Linked DNA regions of Homo sapiens: regions 1, 3 and 4 are each linked to region 2. The links are contacts of gene promoters, found by promoter capture Hi-C in blood cells and fetal thymus (Javierre and others, 2016). All regions are on one chromosome and are shown on one strand. Each heading gives the region's core, a stretch centred on a gene start or on the middle of the fragment in contact. The rest is flanking DNA. Distances are from core to core; before and after follow the strand shown.

The links. The method cuts DNA at HindIII sites, captures the fragments that hold promoters and counts their contacts. A CHiCAGO score of 5 or more calls a contact.
Region 1: a contact is called between a fragment that was not itself captured here and the fragment with the promoter of MROH9 in region 2, in 1 of 17 cell types (M1 macrophages). The highest score is 5.5, in M1 macrophages.
Region 3: a fragment that was not itself captured here is called in contact with the fragment with the promoter of MROH9 in region 2 in 2 of 17 cell types (M1 macrophages and M2 macrophages); the score reaches 5.5 in M1 macrophages.
Region 4: a fragment that was not itself captured here is called in contact with the fragment with the promoter of MROH9 in region 2 in 1 of 17 cell types (M0 macrophages); the score reaches 6.8 in M0 macrophages.

What each region holds. Positions count from the first base shown.
Region 1 is chr1:170,412,610-170,415,309 of GRCh38, reverse strand. No RefSeq gene overlaps it. Among named protein-coding and RNA genes, the nearest start is that of GORAB, 120 kb to the left of the region's middle. The HindIII fragment of the contact is 2,538 bases long and covers 147-2,684 here.
Region 2 is chr1:170,934,139-170,936,838 of GRCh38, reverse strand. MROH9 (maestro heat like repeat family member 9) reads right to left here and starts at 1,305. Exons shown (of 22, transcript NM_001163629.2): 1 at 1,252-1,305. The HindIII fragment of the contact is 7,245 bases long and covers 1,216-2,700 here.
Region 3 is chr1:170,095,758-170,098,457 of GRCh38, reverse strand. No RefSeq gene overlaps it. Among named protein-coding and RNA genes, the nearest start is that of KIFAP3, 22 kb to the right of the region's middle. The HindIII fragment of the contact is 385 bases long and covers 1,234-1,618 here.
Region 4 is chr1:170,237,427-170,240,126 of GRCh38, reverse strand. The region is part of intron 2 of LINC01681 (long intergenic non-protein coding RNA 1681); the gene reads right to left. Among named protein-coding and RNA genes, the nearest start is that of LINC01142, 45 kb to the left of the region's middle. The HindIII fragment of the contact is 1,013 bases long and covers 928-1,940 here.

The DNA.
Region 1 (2,700 bases), core at 166-2,665, 520 kb after region 2:
ATCTTAGCATTGTGAAGTGTTAGAACTAGAAAATACTGAAGAAAGCAAAGGCCTAACTCTGTATTTTGCAGTTGAGAAAATTGGAGCACAGAGAAATGCTGTGACTTTGCCAAGGTCATGAGTCTATTCAGCATCTGGGCCAAGCTTCAAACTCACTCACATAGTTGTCTGAAAATAAACATTGAATGAAAGTATTCTGATTGTGATTTACTCATTTTCCCTCTTTGGTCGTCTAATAAGTGTTTTTGTGCTGTCCTCTAAAACCTTATAGAAAGATTATTTTACTACTTCTGGAGGAGAAAACTCACATATCACTATTTAGTCTATTTACTTCATTTCTATAAAAGACCATCTTGAGAATGTGTTTTATACACTCCAGGTCCACATAAACATAAAATTTGATCCCTTATGAATAGAAATGTTTGTAGTGGATTCTTAAAAGGCAACAGTGTTCTGATGCAGCTTTCCCACAGGAAAGAGTTCCCGAATTCCCAAATTCCTGTTGATGATGCCAATTTCTCTTGAAATTAAGACTTTGTTTATTTCACCCTCACTGTCATTCTTGCCCATTCACCATACCTCCAGTTTAAGTTCAGCCTCTTTTTTTTTTTTTTTGAGATGGAGTCTCGCTCTGTCGCCCACGCTGGAGTGCAGTGGCACAATCTCGGCTCACTGCAACTTCCGCCTCCCGGGTTCAAGCGATTCTCCTGCCTCAGCCTCCTGAGTAGCTAGGATTACAAGCGCACACCACTATGCCCAGCTAATTTTTTAATTTTTATTTTTATTAGAGATGGGGTTTCACCATGTTGGCCAGGCTGGTCTCAAACTCCTGACCTTGTGATCTGCCCACCTTGGCCTCCCAAAGTGCTGGGATTACAGGCGTGAGTGAGCCACTGCACCCGGCCAAATTCAGCCTCTCTTTAGATACTTCTGTCTTAGCTCCTTACTCAACACCTTTTTGGCTTCAGTTCAAAATTGCTCTCCGAGAGGACTAAATAACCTTGATGCTCATTGTCACCTCTTTACTGCCCTTAGTCATTGATTGGCATGTTTTTGTCTATCCAGGTCCTGGTGCAAAGTGCCCTGCTAAGTTCTCCTGAGCTTAACATCTTCTTTCTATTAATACATCCTAAATTCTTGACACTTTTATCTTCTCTCTTACTTTCTATATTTATTACGTTTGAAATAAATACACACAAAATAATACATCAATCAACTTCATCCCTGTAACTCTTGCATATATGCATGTGTGTAGTTTTAACAAATGATAATACAAACACTTGTGTGTACACCATCAAGTTTAAGAAATAGAATACTGTTGATGTTGTTGAAGCCATTATAGGCTCCTCCTGATTGCACCTGCCTCCCTTCCAAATATTTATTATTCCATTGCTTTTCTTTATAATTTTACTATTTATGCATATGCCCCTAAGAGATGTTTAGTTTTGCTTTTGTTGAGGTTTAAAAACATGGCACCATATATATATATATATAGCTTTTTGTGACTTGCTTTTCCTGCTTACTATTTTGTTAAATTATTGCTTATCAATACATGTTACTTAATTAGTTTTCATTGCAGTAAGGAATTCCATTATATGACTATTTCACAACTTATTCATACTTTCTACTTTTGACTGATAGATATTTGGGTATTCTCAGTTATTTGTTTTTACAGAAATTGCTGTTATGAACATGTTTATTCATGTCTCCTGGCTTATTCATTAAATATTTTCTCCAGAGTATAAAAGAATAAATTTATTTTTACATTATAGGCTATAAGTATTTTCAACATTATACCTCAACATTATTAGGTAATGTAAAACTGTTTCCTGAAGTCACTGTACCATTTATATTCCCATTACTCCACAATCTCTCCAAAACTTGGATTTATCCAACTGTTTTTTGTTTTTGTTTTTTGCTAATTTGGGTGTGTGAAATTTTATCTCATTCATAATATTAATATGCATTTCCCTAGTTATTAATGCAGTTGAACATTTTTACATTCAGACAGGCCATTCCTGTTTCCTCTTTTAATATATGAACATGCATATTCATGCATTTTGCCTACTTCTAAGAAATTGAATGGTCTGTCTTTCTGTTGTTTATTTATATGAGTTCTTTTTATATTCTAGATTCTAGGCTTTTTGTTCATAATGTATTGTAAATATTGTCTATGAATTTGTGACTTTTTTACTTTTTTGGGGTTTCCTTTTGATGTTCAAAAGTTCCTAATTTTAATATAGTCAAATTTCTTTACTTTTCTTCATAATTAGCATTTTAAAAATTTTGTTTAAGAAATCCTTCTCTGCCTTGGGTTCACGAATTATTCTGCTAGTTCTTTCTAAAACTGTAAAATTTTTCTCTAGAGCTATATGGATTTTGTATGACTGTGTAGTATGAGATATAATCTTCTTTTTCTTATGAATAGGCAAATGGACCACTACTATTTATTGAACAGTCTAATCTTTCCTCACTAATCTGTAACAAAAGCTCTGTTATATATCAGGTTTCCATATTTGGCTGAGTTTATTTGGGGCTCTGTATTTCATTCCACTGGGCTATGTGTTTATATCTGTACCAATAGCATATTTACTTATTAGATTAATTTTATATTAAGGAAAGATTTCTGGTGTGGTGAGTCCTTTCAATATAATTCTTTAAGAATATCTTGGCTACAACAAGCTTCACAAAATGAGTTGG
Region 2 (2,700 bases), core at 56-2,555:
TCTTTGTTCAGGGCTCAGTCCTTTGGAGGTTAATCCAACTGGGCCGGTGCACCTAAATAATAAATATCCTTCTCAACCCCATCGGTCTCTCTGATTCCTTATCAATCCCACTACATTTCAACATGTTAAATGGAATTATGAGCTTCTTATTGACTTTATTTGGAGATTAACTATGGCTTAAGGATATGTATATGGGTGCCAAATTTTCAACGTGGGAACTCATTATGGTTAGTTAATATTACGTGTCAAACTGAGTGAGCCATAGGATGCCCAGATATCTGGTAAACATTATTTTGGGGTATGTCTGTGAGGGTATTTCCAGAAGAGATTAGCATTTAAATTGGTGTTCTGATGATAGGAGATGACACTCCCTAATGTGGGTCAACATCTTCCAATCCATTGAGGGCCTGAATAAAACAAGAAGGCAGAAGAATGCTTAGTTTTCTCTTTGCCTGACTACTTGACTTGGGACACAAATCTGCTGCCCTCGGTGCTCTGGTTCTCAGATCCTCAGAACCAGGCTGGAATTTTTATCATCAACTCTCTTGCTCTCAGGCCTTCAAACTGCACCATTGGATCTCCTGGGTCTCTGTCTTGCAGAAAGCAGAATCCAGGACTTCCTAGCTTCTATTATTGTGTAAACCAATACCTTATAATAAATATATTTATCTATATAGTTGTGGTTTCTCTCATCCTTACTAATAAGATAATCCTTACTAGTAAGGCATGAAGTTAGGAGATTAATGAATAAAGACAAATTCTTCCAATTGCCAACTTTGGCAAGATTTCTGGATGAGGGCCCATAGTAATGTAATTTTCTTTTTCTTTTCTTTTTTTTTTTTTTTTTTTTTTTTTTGTCTCACTCTGTTGCCAGGCTGGAGTGCAGTAGCATGATCTCGGCTCACTGCAACCTCCACCTCCCGAGTTCAAGTGATTCTCCTGCCTCAGCCTCCTGAGTAGCTGGGATTACAGGCACCCGCCACCACACCCAGCTAATTTTTGTATTTTTAGTAGAGATGGGGTTTCACCAAGTTGCCTAGGGTGGTCTCGACCTCCTGACCTCATGATCCGCCCACAGCCTCCCAAAGTGCTGGGATTACAGGTGTGAGCCACCATACCTGGGCCATAACGTAATTTTCTAATGTATTCATGGTTCTTTTTCTTAACAGAACAAAAATTAAGAAAAGTAGTCAGGATTAGAAAAAAAGACAAGCTTTTGAATGACAGAAATATTAATAGGAATTCACTTACATATTTGTAACTTCTCTGTAATCACGGTGAGACAAAGTAGTGAAGAGAAACTCTAGTATATTACCTCTTAGCCAAAGGTAAAATACTCTAGGTAGTTATCAACCAAGCAAATTCTTTGAAATGTTGACACTCGTCATGGCAACCATATGTTTCAAAGATTCCATTCTGGAATGAATGTGGTAGAATGTCCTGGCATGCCCAAGTGGCTACTAATGCTCACCTGTCATTATTGAGGGGTGGGTAAGTTTCTGGTTTCTATGTTACAAGCACTGAAAGATAGTTCTTCAGACCAACAGTCCAGTAGAAGCTGGGCAAAGGATAAGAATAGAAAATTCACAGAAAAGGAAAACTGAATGGCCAATAAATATTTTAAAAGATTTTTAATCTCACTTGAAGTTATGAAAATACAAACCATTAAAATATTATTTCCCAGCTAATAAGTTAAAAAGTACTAAAATACAAGTAAAAATTAAAAAAAGATAATTTCAAATATTGGCAAAGATAAAAGAAAGTTGAACTTTCTCACACGACTGGTGGGATTATAAATGGATATAACTAGTTTGTAGAGAAACTTGTCAAGTTCTAGCAAAACTGAAAATCTACAACCCAGAATTTCCAGTTCTAGGTCCATAGAGTGTATAAACATGTATACAACTGATGCACTGAGAGACATGAAGGATGTTTATTGTAGCACTTTTTATAATAGAGTTATTAAAATATAATTCACATACCATAAAATTTATCTTAAAGTATATAATTCAATCATTTTAAATATATTTACAGAGGTATACAACCATCATTACTATCTAATTTTAGAACATTTTCATTTAGAACAAGCTCCAAAGAAACCCTGTACCTGTTAGCAGACATTCACCCTCCCTCTCCCCCAAGTACCTGGCAACCACTAATCTTCTGTCTGCCTTCTGGACATTTTATGTAAATAGATTTATACAATATGTGACTTTTTATGATTAGACTGTTTGGATTTTTATTACTGAGTTGTGATTTTTTAATATGTTCTAGATGCTAGTCTCTTATCAGATACATAATTTGCAAATATTCCTCCTTTTCTATGGGCTGCCTTTACATTTTCTTGACAGTGTCTCTTGAAGCACAAAAGTTTTAAATTTAAGTGAAATTTAAATTTGCCATTCTTTTTCTTTTATTGCTTGTGTTTTTGGTATCATAACTAAAAAAAAAGAAAAAGACATTGCCTGCATTCCCTGGCCCAACTTCACAGAGATTAGATTTAGAACTTTTCTAAGAGTTTTGTAGTTTTTGCCTTACATTTAGGTCTTTGGTTCATTCTGAATTAGTTTTAGTATATAGTGTGAGGTAGAGGTCTAATTTTATCTTATTTTTTGCATCTGGATATTCACTTGTCTCAGTACAATTTGTTAAAAAGATGATTCTTTTCCTGATTGTCTCCACATCTTTGTAAAAAATGAA
Region 3 (2,700 bases), core at 177-2,676, 840 kb after region 2:
TTAAAATCACATTTCATTAATGGGCTATTTTAAATGAGTTTCTTTGTGTAAGTAATGCTACTTTGTGCTTGATTTGTTCAAAAGCTATTTAAAATCCCTTGAACCTCAAATGTATGACTAGATCTTAATGCCACTCTCATTTACAGAAATACATATAAAGAAGCCAAAATATTTCATCTCATTCTTTCTTTTCAGTTTACTCCCCCAAAGGGACCTAATTGTGCTTCTTCAACACAAAGTGACAATTTTTGATACAGGTTTATTTAATTTTTAAAAAATTACTTAGAACAATCAAACATGAGCGTTAATGGGAAACATATGTGCCATTCCAAATATTCTGGAAATAAATGCAAAGCAACGTTCCAATCAACATGGGGTCAGGTTTCCTGGCCTGCTCGTGCACATGCAAAATCAGAGAGAGTGAGAGTAGGTGTGCAACCATTCATGACTAAATGTGTTTGTCTGTGTGTCTCCTGAAAAGTCTGCTTCTGCTGCAGCTCTTAGCAGCCTAGAGAAGCAATCTTTTACATGTAGCAAGACACACTCCAGGATATTAACACTCTGTCATTTCCAAGATCCTCTGTTCACCCCAGCTCCAGAGTAAACACCGTGAAAGAAGGAGCCTCGAGCTGCTAAAAAGCACACAAAGCAACAAGCAGTTTCAAACAGTTCCAACAGTTCCAAAACTCATAAAAATGGAAAATGTTTCAAGAACAACTGCCCGTTTGTTCAGAGAATGCCCACAGTGCAGGAGGGTAAATAAAACTTAGTACCTGTTAGATTTATAGGCAAATAACCATTATCTACTACGTGTAGATGAGTGAAGGATAATTTTATGCAAACCACAATAAGTAAATTCAAACAGTGTGGACTAAGCCTGCACAGTTAGTGCAGGAAGTTCAAGGGGGAAAAAAATAAGGAAATGGCATTTTCTGTGTGGTATATCACCAACCTGGGAAATCCATTACAGAGCCAAAAGCTGGAACAGGATTTTATAAAGGGATTGGCTGGAAATAGAATCCCTTAGGTTTTGTGTGGTGATTTCATACCTTAAGCAAAACTCTGCTCCCCAAGATCTAATTTCTAATTAATCTTTTGTAGAAGATTGTGGAGAATTAGTAAATTATAGTTTTTACATTACAGGGTATACAGTATAAATTATTTGGGAGCCTTCAAAGTGCATTCAACTTTTGAATGAATCAGTTTCAGTCAAGTATTATCAGGAGCCAAGCTTCCTAACTAATGCAGCTTAGTATTTTGTGGACTTGTGTCTCAAAGCTGAATAGTTAACTGGCAGTTTTATAAGATTTTTCAAAAGCAGGGCATTTGACTTCGTCCAAACTTTAAAATATCTTTAAATTCTGTGGTTTTTAAATTCAGAAGTGAAGTCAAGCCTTTTCGGGTTCAGATTTCATTTACATTTTGTCAAATGTGGTTTCCTGGGTGATGGTAGAAGATATTTTAAAAAGAAAGAAGGCAATTAAAGGATTATATATAATGCCTATAAGTGGATTCACTGAACTAGGGGCATCAATTTATTTCTAACGTGCCACGTTTTGATGAGGCATGTGTCAAAGAATTTGACATTTGTGGATTTTATTAGAAAAGTATATAAGCTTAACAGCAAAGAAGAAAACATTCTTAGAGCAAGACGGGTGTAAGTTTTAGTGAAACTAATTTTGTTTCAATAGTTCTGTTGAATTAAAAACTCCAGTGATTTCACAGTATGGGGTAGAAGTATAGCACATTTAATGAATTTGCAGAGGCTTTGAAGTCAGAAATAACTGGGTTTAAATATGGGCTCTGGAGAAAGGGAAGGAGAATTGAAAGCAAGGAAGGAAGAGAAGAAGGATTGGGAAGAATGAGGGAAGAAAGGAGAAAGAAAAGAGCATGCATTAATCAGTTTCTCTGCAACAGACACTAATTAAGCTGCTTTACTTACAGTTATCTCCTGCTGCTAGCTGTGGAATCTTGGGCAAATAACTTTAATTCCCTGGGCTTCAGGTTTCTCATCTATAAAAAGATTAACTATTGTAGTATCCTGGGAAGATGGCAGTGGCAGCACAGTTTTTTGTTTCTTCCCAGATCACCACATTAAAAAGAGCAAGCAACTAGACAGCAAAACCAAAATTCCAACAAATCTGTGTAACAGGATACCATGCAAACCTCAAAATACAAATGGATAGAGACAAACTACTAACAACCACAAGGAGAAGTAACAAGGCATTTGATGGTCCTGAGAACAAAAGAACCAAAACATCCAACAGATAATCCTTGGAAAGTACAAGTTCCAATCCTTGGAATCTGAGAAGAATGGCTGAAACTGAGCAGAGCTTGTTCATTCAACAAATTTTCACTGAGTGTAAATTATCTGCTGATTTACAGCAGCTCTGCAGCAGTCTATTCTCTAGGAGCTCTCAAACCTGATCCACCAGAGTTTCCTTCCAGGACAGGGCTCCATATTGAAGAGAAAATCCTCAGACTAGAAGCATCATTTAGCAGCAAAGAGATAATAGACAATATTTTCTTTCTTTCTTTTAAAGGAAAAAAAAATACAGATAAAAGTGGCGAACGGGAACAAAGCTAGGAAATTTCACAAAGCAAGATGCTATATTTTTTAAGATGAAACACAAACAGCAGAAGAGGAGGGTCTGTGAAGTTAGAAAAGCTGCTATTTTCTAAACATTCAGGAAAATTAAT
Region 4 (2,700 bases), core at 185-2,684, 700 kb after region 2:
TTGGCCTAGTAAGTTCCAGGTATAGTTGTGAAGACTGTTCTTCAGTGCAGTAGCAATGAACTGGAAAGCCTTTGTGTAACTGAAGGGTTTCCGTGGGTTCCAGATTCTGAGTTTGTCCCAGAAGCCAAAACAATGATTTATAAAATGTTGCAGATTTCTAAATAAATGTTAAGCATCTCCTGGTTATTAAAGATTGCTAACCAGTATTTAATTTATCTGTGTTTCCTCCTGTTAACCAAGCAAGTATACAAAAAGAGTTGCTATTAATTATCATGCCATATTTTCAAAAACAACACACTATATTAACTTTTGCTTATCACAGACTGCCCTAATCTAAGTCTGATTGTATGGCTTTTAGATCGTCTTTTGGTTTGATAAATACATCAGAATCCCCAATAACTGTTGAGATTTCATTTCCACCCCACCTAACTATTGCTCATCTCATTCTTACTCATGCAATTCCTCCTCCCTCCCCACCCATACACAGCAATGCTGCTTTTGCAATTTGTCAACCTGAAGGCAATAACAGTTGTCAAACTGACCGTGCAACTTTTTGGCAACCCACACAAATCACTGTGTATCTCTGTACTTCTCTCTCCTTTTATCAATGATTTGGGAGTAATCATCCTGGTTGCCTGCTTTGTTCTCGTGAGTTTGGAGGGCACTGACATTCATGGAACATTGTGAACTAAGAAGAAAGTTGCTTATAAGTGTCTCGAACTACCATTTTCACATGTCTTAACTGCCATAACAGGGAGGAAAGTCTTCACAATTTGAAAGGCTGCCTGAAACTTAGTCCCACTGCACCAAACCTTTGATCTTTTGGTCACACCGTCAGTCTCTTGAAAACTCAGTTCTCTTGTAAAATTTTCAGTCTGCTCCCAAAACAATTGTTGCATAAGTTCTGAAAGCCAGGCCCACAAAGCTTCGCTTTGTTCTGGAAAGTTCCCTAAATAGAGTTAGGTAACAACGGCATTAGCACTAAGACTGAGGAGTCATGGCATCCAATCACACACAGCTCTCTGTTTTTCTTTCTCTCAACGTCTCTTTTTCTTTTCCTCTTCTCTTCCCCTTCTTTTTCAATTTCTTCCTCCTCCTCTCTTCTCCTTTGTTTCCTTCTCCCACAAAAAGTGTTTGCTTTTCCCCGCAAACGCTTCTGAGCCTTGGACCAGGCTCTGATTTCACCAGCTTTGCTTAAGCAAGACTTGCTGCTTCACCTAAGGACAAAGGTGTTTCCAGGTTTAACTAAAAACTGGATGGGACATTACATAACAGAGTGAAGTGAGGCTCCCATTGCCAAAGTGCTACAAAAACACTTTTTCTCACAATGTTTCAGAACTTTTGCAACAGGGTATCTACGAGAATTAAAACATGGGTTAAAAATATGTAAGATCTCATGCCAAATAATTGAAAACAAACAGTTGATTTACAGTAAGATCTTGCTAGTTTTCACTCTTCTGAAATGAACCTGATTCTTTTGTTTTAATAGCAGGGTTTATTTGCTATATACATTGAAATACTTTAAATTATTGAGCATTTTTGAATATTAAGAACTTTTGAAATAAATCATGAACTGATGTTAGGAACAATTTTAAGTGTGTCACATTTGTCGGTATGAATTAACCTAATGCATTTTATTTGAGGGGCTTCTCTACATTTTCTTCTCTTGCTTGTGAGAGTCTGTGACATTTCACAATGAAGATAGCCTCTTGTGTAAGCATAAATTAGGAGAAGCCACCAAGGCTGAGATTAATAGCTTAAGTTATTTTCACTAAATTTAAGTAGATTGATTAAATCATTCCACAATGTAATCATGTATCAAAACATCACAATGTACTCCCTAAATAGATGCAATTATTATTTGCCAGTTAAAAAGTTTTAAAAAGAGGTTTACTTCGTGAAGAGCAAAAAATATTTGGCAACAGTAATCAAATGAAGCTTATATATCATAGTCAAAATATAATTGTATCAGAATTCCTGATGATTAAAGCACATCTAGAAAGAGCCCGGCCCACTGTGCTCCTGCCCACGACCAAGGCCTCAAAGAGGTCTCTCTAATCATTCCCACTCTCATTTCTGGCTGTACTCCTATTTCTTACTATGCTGGGGTAACATGTTTGTAGACTATTTTAAGAACTATATTGAGCAGCTTCTTCAAACAGGTATACTTACTCTTGGGAGTACATAAAACCTTTCAGAAGACATGCAAACACAAACTGTTCTAAGGAAATCAATTTCCAGATACTTAGCTTCCACATCCACTCTTTCCTAAAAGTAGTCTGCCTAAGGTGCCTTCCATGAACTCTTCATAACCCTTTCCTTCCCATTCGCTTTGTTATCCTTGCTGGAGCGATGCATTGTCTTGCGATGTAATAATCTCTGGGATGTCAAACAAAGGAATAATTTGAAATATTTGTGTCACCTCATTTAATCAAAGCACCATAAAACCTGACCACCGATCATGCTAAGAAAAGCATCTCCAATACAATATTATTTTTGATATTTAAAAATTATAATTTGTGTGTATTTTTGATCACTTCCATATGAAAAATAACTGTTATGATAATACAGAAGAAAATTATAGGTCTTCAAACTCTAGGACCATAGAAAATTTTTATTGCAACTAGTAGGCAGAGCTAAAAATGTAGCAAAAGGAATCTAAATTTAGACATAAAGTTCTGACTATGGAGGTAGTGAAAA